Regions from separate parts of the Homo sapiens genome. Here region 2 is linked to region 1. The links are contacts of gene promoters, found by promoter capture Hi-C in human tissues and cell types (Jung and others, 2019). All regions are on one chromosome and are shown on one strand. Each heading gives the region's core, a stretch centred on a gene start or on the middle of the fragment in contact. The rest is flanking DNA. Distances are from core to core; before and after follow the strand shown. Region 1 holds the start of CCDC116 (coiled-coil domain containing 116). Region 2 overlaps PI4KA (phosphatidylinositol 4-kinase alpha).

The links. The method cuts DNA at HindIII sites, captures the fragments that hold promoters and counts their contacts. A contact is called where the count stands out against the background at its distance.
Region 2: a contact is called between a fragment that was not itself captured here and the fragment with the promoter of CCDC116 in region 1, in 1 of the 25 tissues and cell types used here (dorsolateral prefrontal cortex).

Annotation. Positions count from the first base shown.
Region 1 is chr22:21,630,489-21,635,615 of GRCh38, forward strand. CCDC116 (coiled-coil domain containing 116) reads left to right here and starts at 2,272. Exons shown (of 5, transcript NM_152612.3): 1 at 2,272-2,339; 2 at 2,632-2,765; 3 at 3,534-4,082; 4 at 4,197-4,778. The coding sequence starts at 2,694. RefSeq lists an enhancer at 2,004-2,503. The HindIII fragment of the contact is 5,816 bases long and covers 1,922-5,127 here.
Region 2 is chr22:20,820,784-20,825,910 of GRCh38, forward strand. PI4KA (phosphatidylinositol 4-kinase alpha) reads right to left here. Exons shown (of 55, transcript NM_058004.4): 4 at 3,543-3,631. Among named protein-coding and RNA genes, the nearest start is that of PI4KA, 35 kb to the right of the region's middle. The HindIII fragment of the contact is 7,070 bases long and covers 1-5,127 here.

The DNA of each region.
Region 1 (5,127 bases), core at 1,022-3,521:
GAGGCGGAGGTTGTGGTGAGCCGAGATCGCACCACTGCACTCTAGCCTGGGCGATAGAGCGAGACTCCGTCTCAAAAAAAAAAAAAAAAAAAAAAAAGAATCTCCTACCCTTCCCAGAGATTGCCATTGTAAACTTTCTGGGTTGTGTCCTTCCAGTGTTTTCTCTAAGCAAATAAACACACCCAACTCCCTTTCTCCCCAACCCAACTTTTTTGTGTGTTGTTTTGAGAACATAAAGATGATTATATCAATGTTATCACATTCTAGTAGTTTCTTAGCAGTGCGAATGAAAATTTTCATATTATTAGCTATTTTTATTCTTTTTCAAATTGCCTATTGATCTTTTGCAGATTTTTCTAAGAGCAGGCATTTTCTTGATTTGTTGATTTTTTTTTTTTCTTGAGCTCTAGACACTAAGAAAATGAAAGAAAGCATATACACTAAGGCTTCATTTGAGAAAACATTATCTCCAGTTTCCATCTTGAGCTCTCTGCCAGGCTACAGCTTTTACATTCATAACTTCACTGTTTTCTCTTTGGTCCAGAAAAGCTTTCCTTACCCATGACTGTATAAATAGTCATTATGGTTGGCAGCCACAGTTTCCATTGCAATGTGACAGTCTTGATTTTTCCCATGGAAAGTGTGGTATTTGTGTCCGGGCTATGAAATTGGTAATGTCATTCCTGTTTCACAGATGAGGAAACTGGGGTTCAGAGAGCGAAAGTGTGGTCCTGCCAGGAGTAGTGGAGCTAAGACTGAACCTCACACCTCGGGGCCAGCACCCAGGCCTGCTATGTCCTCTCTGTCCCTGACCTAGTGGGTAGCCAGAGCTGAGAGGACAGAGCAGAGCTTGAGAGGAACAATATTTCGTGAGGCATGTGAGGATTGAAAGCCTCATAGAGTCCTTCAGCCATGCTCTTGGCATAAGGACTGATGTGTTTATAGTGACTGGTGAATTGTCAGACCTCAACCAACCACCGTTCTCCACTGGAAGCTGATCTTGGAAAGGTCAGAGGTCCCGAGGGTCTGCAGGTGGGAAGGAGGAGACTGACATTTATTGAGCACCTACTTGGTGCCAGACACTGAAAGTATTAGAGATTAAGGGTGACTTGCCTCTGTTCTGGCCCCAAAGAAGCACCATCTGATAGAAAAATAAGTAGCAACATGGTATGGTAGAGTCTGGAATGGGGTTTACTGTGAATTGCGTAGGGCGTGGCAGAATTCACAGTAAAAGGTTTTTGGAAGAAGTGACACCATGGTGGGGTATTACTGAGCAAAGGGGAAAAGGAGGGAGGGAGAGGAGGTAAGAATATACAAGGCTCCGCTGGGCGCGGTGGCTCAGGTCTGTAATCCCAGCACTTTGGGAGGCCAAGGCAGGCGGATCACAAGATCAGGGAATCGAGACCATCCTAGCTAACACGGTGAAACCCCATCTCTACTAAAACTACAAAAAAATTAGCCGGGCGTGGTGGCGGGCCCCTGTAATCCCAGCTGCTCGGGAGGCTGAGGCAGGAGAATGGCGTGAACACGGGAGGCGGAGCTTGCAGTCAGCCGAGATTGCGCCACTGCACTCCAGCCTGGGCGACTGAGCGAGACTCCCGTCTCCAAATAAATAAATTAATTAATTAAAGAATACACAAGGCTCCACTGGGTTACTGGGTGTGCTGTAGGGAGATTTTATTGAATCCCATACTCCCATATTGGAAGAACACTCAAGCCCATTTACAGTGTGGGACTAATGCTGAGAGGTTGAGTCACATTGGCAGGAAAGAGCAGAGCCAGGAACTGAAGCTAGGTCTGTGACTTAGAGCCGGCACTCTTTCCACTGCAGAGGGGAGAGGTCTCAAGGCAGAACCTGGGGCTGTGCACACCGCGGGAAGGGCAGAGGCCCCTGGAAACGAACAGGAGCAGGAGGCCCAGGGCTGCGCAGCAACCAAGGAGGACACGAGGAAGGTGCTTGTGCCACCGGTGGAAGACGTGGCTTTGGCTTTTAGGCTCCCCTCGGGGCAGGAGCAGATCAAAGAGCCTAGCCCCAGCTTCGGTGGTGGGTGGGGGGTCCTCCCGGCAGCGGGGAGCGTGGGCACCAGCATCCTCAGCCTGCGGCTCCCAGGCGAGTGTGGGAGGGCAGAGCCCAGAGAATTGGAGGTGGGGCCAATGTGGGCCCCGCCCCCAACCATTGTGTCGGAGAGGGAAGTGGACGAGCTCCTCGGTAAGAACCAATGAGGATGTGGTATGCAAATAAGCAAGTGGAGGCCGCCAGCCGACTTCCTCGCACTGTGCAGCTGCTCCAGTGAGGGCGCAGACTGTACTGGCCTGTGCGGAGCAAGGCGGTGTTTCTGGTGAGTCTGTTGATTCTGGGCTGGGGTGAAAGCCAGGTTGCCCAGGGTTTGGGAGGAGGGCGGGTCGAGCACACGCAGATCCAAAGATGATCGGAGACAGGATTGTCCTCAGCGATTCCACCCCGATGACTCTGGAAACTGCCTGCCTGCAGACGCATGGGGGCCATGGAGCAGAGGAAGGGCTGGATGCATGAAGGAGGCGGGGTGCGGGGAGCGAGGGACCCGCAGACTCCAGGGCCACAGATGCGTGGACCTATTGGAGACCCTCAGGTTGTCTCCCCACCCCACGCAGAGAGGAATGCGCAGCTGAAGAGAGAGGTGGGCAGCAGGCCCGGTCACCTGCCAGGTGACCACATGGCCAGGTGCCGCCACCACTCGGGTTACCTGGCCGATGACGAGGCCAGCCACTCCATGTGCAGTGCACGGGTAAGTGTGCCCAGCAGGGCGCCGACCCTTGAGGCCACAACATGTTCCCCACCAACCCTGGCACCCAAGACCACAACCCCCATTTCTCATTGTCTATTGACTTCTCTGGGCCTCTTAGTGAAGTCCTTATTGCCTTGACTTCTCCTATGTCCCCCACTGCTTGCCCCTGTCACACTCAATTTCATTCCTTGTTTCCTCCTGACTTCCAGCGACCCAGAAGGTGCTTGGGTGGACTGGGACCCTAGAGTGGGAGCATGGAGTTGACTAGGTGCCTATGGCTCAAGTTGGAGAAACAGGCCCGGGTAGCACAGGGCTCAAGACCTCAGGTGTTGTCTGCACTCAAGACCTCAGATGTTGTTTGCAGCCCTGCCATGGATACAGGGATGGCCTGCTGCATGGACAGATGAGGAGCTGGAGGGAGACTCCGAGAGATTCATGATTGCTCATCCTGCCACGTGTCAGGGCAGAAGCAGGCTTGCAGACTCCTTAGCCAGGACTTGTGTGTGTGAAATGTAGGTGTTAGGAAAGCTTCGGGGTGACCCTGAATAGACCTCCACTTTGCAGATGAGGACATTGGACCTCAAGAGGGGCCATCTTGCACACTGGCATCAGGCTGTAGGTGGCAGAGCCAGGGTCCAAACCCAGGGCTTCCAGACTCCAAAATGCAGCTCCTTCCACTACTCACTCCCACCCAGGTCCTAGTGTTACCCCAGGGAACCCTTCACCTGTAGGGCACCCCTGCCCCCTGTGACATACCTGTCTGCTCAGGTGCAGCTGCCCAAGAAGCCACTGGTCCCAGAAATGCGGCCAGCCTGCAAGCCGGGCCGTGTGCCACACCCACCATCCACATGTGGCAGCTCAGCACTCCAGGGCCAACGCCGAAACAAGAGGCACCCTCAGCCCTTTGGCCACTTTCTGGATTTCCTAACTGAGAGCCAGGTCCTGGACAGCCTGGAGACAGTGGTGGAGAAGGCGACTGAGCGCATGGCTGCCATGAAGACGGAGGCTGGGGTGCCGCTTGTGGAGGTGCAGGACCCAGTGGAGGTGCCAAGTGGTGGACGGCGGGCACATGCCCGGCCCAGCCTCAGCACCGTACACCGGCACCGTGTACGGCCGACCCTCTGCACTGGACACCCCAACAACTACCCATCCAGCTCCAGCTCCATGTCCAACTGCCATAGCAGCCTCATGGCCGGCTGTCTGGGCTCCCACAGCCGGGACAGTGACCTAGGTGCCCAAGGCTCATTGCCACCTGTGAGGGACAAACTCCTGCTGGAGAAGAACCTCAAGCGGCTGCTACAGCTGGAGAGGGAAGGGGTGAGAGCCAGGGCCATGGCTGGGTGGGGTGGACTCCCATGGAGAGCCCAGGGCTAGGGTCAGCCCTGGCTTGGCTGCTCCTGAACACTTCACAGAGTCACCCTCTTTCTGCAGAAAGGCCTCAGTCAGTCCTGCTCCCAGAGGGACTCCCTGCTGTGGGATTCGCTGGGTAGCCAGACCAGCTTTCAGTGGACACAGGAGCAGCCCTTGTCCTGGTTCTCAGGGCTGCTGGGCTCAAGCTCTGGCGTGCCTGAAGCATCAGAGCCGAGGCCTGGAGAACAGGAGCCAATCTTCCGCAAGCGAGAGTTCAATAAGGAGATCAAGTCATTACTGAGCCAGCTGGAGTCCCTCGACCTGCCTGGCTACTGTCCGCTCCGTGAGCCCCATCGCACGCTGAACTTCCTGGCTGACCACCGCCTCTTCCCTGCCCTGCAAAGCGTGGTCAGCCAGGCTGTGGATAAGCTCCGTGGCGCCCACTGCCGCGACGGCCGTCCTCTGTTCCCCACCAGCTTGGAGCCCACCTCAGATCTGCCGCCTCTGGGCTCTGAGCCAGCTAAACCCACCAATGGCGGGCAGCCCTATGCTTCCCCCCGCCCCACAGTCTCCAGCCCCAAGATGCTTCAGAGAAAACGCAAGGACAGAGGAGGCTCCCCCTCCATGTCTAGTGCCCAGGTGGCCACCAGATTCAAACTCAAGGTGACACCCACGGAGAAGCCCAATGTCCCCAGCCCCTCACTCCACTCCAGGGAGGAGGCACCTGACTCAGATCCCAAATTACAAAACCCACCTGTTTCCCTGAGCTCCAGCCAGAGGGCCCAGCCCTGGCAGGGCCTGCACCTCACCCTGCCCACGCCAGGGATTGTGGTGGAGGTGGCCTGCAGCCAGGGCCACCTCAGGGGCCCTGTCACACCTCCACTTTCCTCCCCCTACCCCCGCTCTTCCTGCTACCTTCTCCCTGAGCTCTCTCCAGTTGCCTCTTCATCTCCCGCCTCACTGTGTCCAGAGGTGACCTCCTCAAAAGTAGGACCGGGCATGAGTTTGCAGG
Region 2 (5,127 bases), core at 1,857-4,356, 810 kb before region 1:
AAAACCCTCACTCTCTGGGCTGGTTCCGAGTTCCTCCCAATACTGGGCCAATGTTGTCCTCCTGGGGCTTGTACCTACCAGCCCTTGGGGCTGCTTTTTCCTCTATTAACATATTCTGTAAACAGGTGATGGGTCCCCAAATCTTCTCTTTTCATGGGTAAACGCCCTAGCGCTTTTCAACCGTATTCTTCATGATCATAAATCCTTTGTAATGCTAATTGCCAGCTTCTGATTTTACGGTAGTCCAGTTTTCTGTCTGGAAGTGTAGTGCTCAGAATAAAATACATTAACATCTGGGATGCTGGAACTCACCCAGCATACTCACCAAACTCATCACAGATTCTACACTTCTATGTATGTGACATTAGCTTTTCTGCAGCCACTTCACACTGCTTATGTGAAGCTCATCTCAATGAGCTTATACATAATTTTTAAATTTTTTTTATTTGTTTGAGACGAAGTTTCGCTCTTGTTGCCCAGGCTGGAGTGCAGTGGCATGATCTTGGCTTACTGCAACCTCCACCTCCCAGGTTCAAGCGATTCTCCTGACTCAGTCTCCTGAGTAGCTAAGATTACAGGTGCATGCCACCATGCCTGGCTAATTTTTTGTATTTTTAGTACAGACAGGGTTTCACCATGTTAGCCGGGCTGGTCTCGAACTCCTGACCTCAGGTGATCCACCTGCCTTGGCCTCGCAAAGTGCTGAGATTATAGGCGTGAGCCACTGCGCCCAGTCCATAATTATTTAAGTTAAGAAATTTTTTTTTGTTCCTGGAAGGGTGGCTTATGCCTATAATCCCAGCACTTTTGTTTGTTTGTTTGTTTTGAGGCGCGGTTTCACTCTTGTTGCCCAGGCTGCAGTGCAATGGCATGTCTCGGCTCACCACAACCTCCGCCTCCTGGGTTCAAGCGATTCTCCTGCCTCAGCCTCCTTAGCAGCTGGGATTGCAGGCATGCACCACCACGCCTGGCTAATTTTTTATTTTTAGTAGAGACGGGGTTTCTCCATGTTGGTTAGTCTGGTCTCAAACTCCCAACCTCAGGTGATCGATCCACCCACCTCGGCCTCCCAAGGTACTGGGATTATAGGCATGAGCCACTGTGCCCAGCCAATCCCAGCACTTTGGGAGGCTGAAGCGGGTGGATCAGTTGAGCTCAGGAGTTCAGACCTGCCTGGGCAAAGTAGCAAAACCCTGTCTCTACAAAACATACAAAAATTAGCCAGGTGTGGTGGTGCGTGCCTGTGGTCAGGAGGCTGACGTGTGAGGGTCACTTGAGCCCAGGAGGCCGAGGATATAGTGAGCCAAGAACAGTGCAGGGGTTCAATGATAGCTCACTGTAGCCTCAAACTCCTGGACTCAAGCAATCCTCCTGCCTCAGCCTCCTAAGTAGCTGGGATTACAGGCATGTGTCACTATGCCCAGCTAATTTTTATTTTTATTTTTGTAGGGATAGGTTTTGCTATGCTGCCCAAGCTAGTCTCAAATTCCCGGGCTCAAGTGATCCTCCTGCCTCAGCCTCCCAGAATGTTGGGATTACAGGCGTGAGCCACCATCCATGACAATAAGCTTATAGATGAGGAAGATACCTAAGTCTTCTTTCGCACCTGCTTCTCCTGAACTATGTAATCTCTACTAACGTAGTTGGTATTTTTTATCTTTCATCTACCCCTACAAAAACTCATGGTATTAGCTTTAGCTCACTGTACAAATCTGTGATTCCCAGCTTTGTGCCTTCTCCAAATGAAATCAACTTGCTTTCCAGATCTTCATTCACAGCACTAGCTTGTTTTGCTCCAATGACAGGAGGGTCCTGCTAGGCCGATACCTCACTGATCACCCTTTGGGACAGTCCTTCAGGCAGTTCTGCAAACCCTCCAAACCATTTGGCCCTCAGCCCATATAACTGGTCCAGGATGTCAGGAAAGGTGCTTGTCCAAAGCATTTATGAAGATCCACTAGAATGCAGCAACTTCATTTCTCTCAACCATTCTTCTTAGAAAACCCAGGCAAAGAAAAAATGAAGTTGGTGTGACATGACTTGTTCATAACCAAGTCAAATCTCTTACATTTTCCTAATATTAAGTAATGCTGAATAATCTACAAAAGCTTGAAAAGCAATAGTTTTTCCATTTTATTTATTTATTTTGAGACCGAGTCTCACTCTGTTATCCAGGCTGGAGTGCAATGGCATGATCTCAGCTCACTGCAACCTCTGCCTCCCAGGTTCAAGTGATTCTCATGCCTCAGCCTCCCGAGTAGCTAGGATTACAGGCTCCTGCCACCACGCCCGGCTAATTTTTATATTTTTAGTAGAGATGGGGTTTCTTCATGTTGGCCAGGCTGGTCTCAAACTCCTGACCTCAGGTGATCCACCCGCCTCAGCATCCCAAAGTGCTAGGATTACAAGCCTGAGCCACCGCACCCAGCCACTTTTTCCATTTTATATGTTAAAGTCATGTTATCACCTTTGGTGTTGACCTCTTTATTCTGATAAATTTTATTCATAGAAAAAAGCCCTTAATGTCCAACTTTTTAATAAAAACACATTATTCTAACATATTTAAGTATTTCTTTAGCCAACCTACAAATAAATGAAGAATCTAAATTAGTCAAAATACATCACTAACTGGGAACATTTAGAATGCAGACAAGCAACTAGGCACTGTTTGGAAGAACCTAGGAACAGCAGCATACAAAAACTAACTTTCTAAGCGATAAATTTAAGAAAAAGTTGTATGATTACATTCTTTGTTTAAAGAACAGGAAAGTATGAAATACATGTTTGTAACATTTCTATCAAAATTAACAAAATCTAAAGAAAGTCTGTGCCCTTAAAGATAAAAGCTTCAGCTACCTAGAAGATTCTCTTCTAGCTGGGCACAGTGGCTCACACCTATAATCCCAGCACTCTGGGAGGTCGAGGCAGAAGGATCACTTGAGGCCCGGAGTTCAAGACCAGCCTGGGCAACATGGCGAAACCTTGTCTCTACAAAAAATACAAAACAAATTAGCTGGCATGATGGTGCACGCCTATAGTCTCAGCTACTTGGGAGTCTTAGGAGGGAGGCTGGCTTGAGGTGGACGGCAGAGGTTGCAGTGAGCCAAGATTGCACCACTGCACTCCAGCCTGGATGACAGAGCAAGACTGCCTCAAAAAAAGAAAAGAAAATGATCTTCTATGAATGACTTCAATCCCCAACAAAGAGCAAGAAAAATGAGCTGCCTCTGCCTTTTTCTGCCGCCTACCTTAAAGGACTTTCTGAAAAGCTGAAAGGGATAGTGCTGCTCATGTCTCTGCAGCCCCTGCCCTTCATTAGAAAAAAGAAAAAAAAAAAAAGAAAAGTTTAATAAGATAAGACTCGAGATCCTAAAGAGTAGTGAAAGACCTAAGCATGTCTTAGGTCTGCTGTCAACAGGATGAAATAGATAAATATCAACAAACAATTCAATCACATTTCACGTTTTTAAAATCTTTTCATCACTTTGGGACTCTATTCAATCTAATAGAAATGCATACCAAATCAACCAACACATGCTTACCTCATCCCTAAGTGAAGGATCCCTATAGGCCACATCAGACAGCAGAGTTACCAAGCAGAAGCTGAAGCTCTCTGCAACCGGGAGGGCACCTGGAAGATGTAAAAACATAAATCAGATAACCAGGAACCAGATACTGGGTCACACCTCTGGCCATCCAATTCAATATGTTCCCTCTCACCATGACCTGCCAAGGGACCAGTTTACAGCAGCTGCCCTCCTTGAGACGAGTCTCAAAAGAACAGCTATGGGCCCAATGAGTTTGCTGAGAAACACCCTTACCTTTCCTTTAAGTAAATGTTTTGGTTCAATAAACTTAAATGTTTCCTGAGCCAATAGCTAGTGTGAGATAACAAAGCCTCTCAACATGACAGATTCAATTTTTTATTCCCTAAGTAAATGTGATAAATCACACACACACACACACACACACACACACACACACACACACACACACAAAACACTCGGCTGGGCGAAGTGGCTCAAGTCTGTAATCCCAGCACTTTTGGGGGGCCAAGGCAGACGGATCACCTGAGGTCGAGTTCAAGACCAGCCTGGCCAACATGGTGAAACCCCGTCTCTACTAAAAATACAAAAATTAGCTGGGTGTGGTGGCGCACACCTGTAATCCCAGCCACTTGGGAGGCTGAGACAGGAGAATAGCTCGAAGCCAGGAAGTGGAGGTTCCAGTGAGCCGAGATCGCACCACTGTACTCCAGCCTGGGTGACAGAATGAGACGCCATCTCAAAAAAAAAAAAAAAAATCAATTTTGAATATTGAATGTTGAATCAAGGAAAAAAGAGTATCCACTATTTAATAGCTATATTCATAGTACATGACAGAAGACTTACATTTCTACTCCAGCACTTAAAATTTTAAAGTGCAGCTCTAGGCTGTTCTCAAACTTGAATGTGCCCATGCCCGGCCTAAAATTTGACCTTTTAGTAATGATGCTCTATTTAATTTGTAGTCCATCAAATTGCAGGACAGACTGGGTGCAGTGGCTCATGCCTATAGTCCTAGCACTTTAGGAGGCCAAAGCAGGCAGATCACTTGAGGCCAGGAGTTCAAGACCAGCCCAGCCAACATGGCAAAATACTATCTCTACCGAAAATACAAAAATTAGCCAGGCATGGTGATGCATGCCTGTAATCCCAGGTACTTGGGAGGCTGAGGCACGAGAATTGCTTGAACCCAGGAGGTGGAGGTTGCAGTGAACCGAGGTCAGGCCACTGCACTACAGCTTGGAGTGCAGACAGAGTGAGACTGTCTCAAAAAAACAAAAAACAAACAAAATCCTAACAAATTGCAGGTACATGCATAATTTGGGATCTGTCAGTTTTAGGCATGTTACCAGAAATGATGAAAACCCAAAGGTTAAGAGGAATACTGGCACAAACAGAATGTTTTTTAATTTTTATTTCAGGTTCAGGGGTACATACGCAGTTTTGTTATACAGGTAAACTGCATGTTACGGGGGTTTGGTGTACAGATTATTTCATCATCCCCGTAATAAGCATAGTACCCAGAAAGTAGTTTTCCCATCCTCACCTTCCTCCTATTCTCCACTCTTAAGTAGGCCCCAGT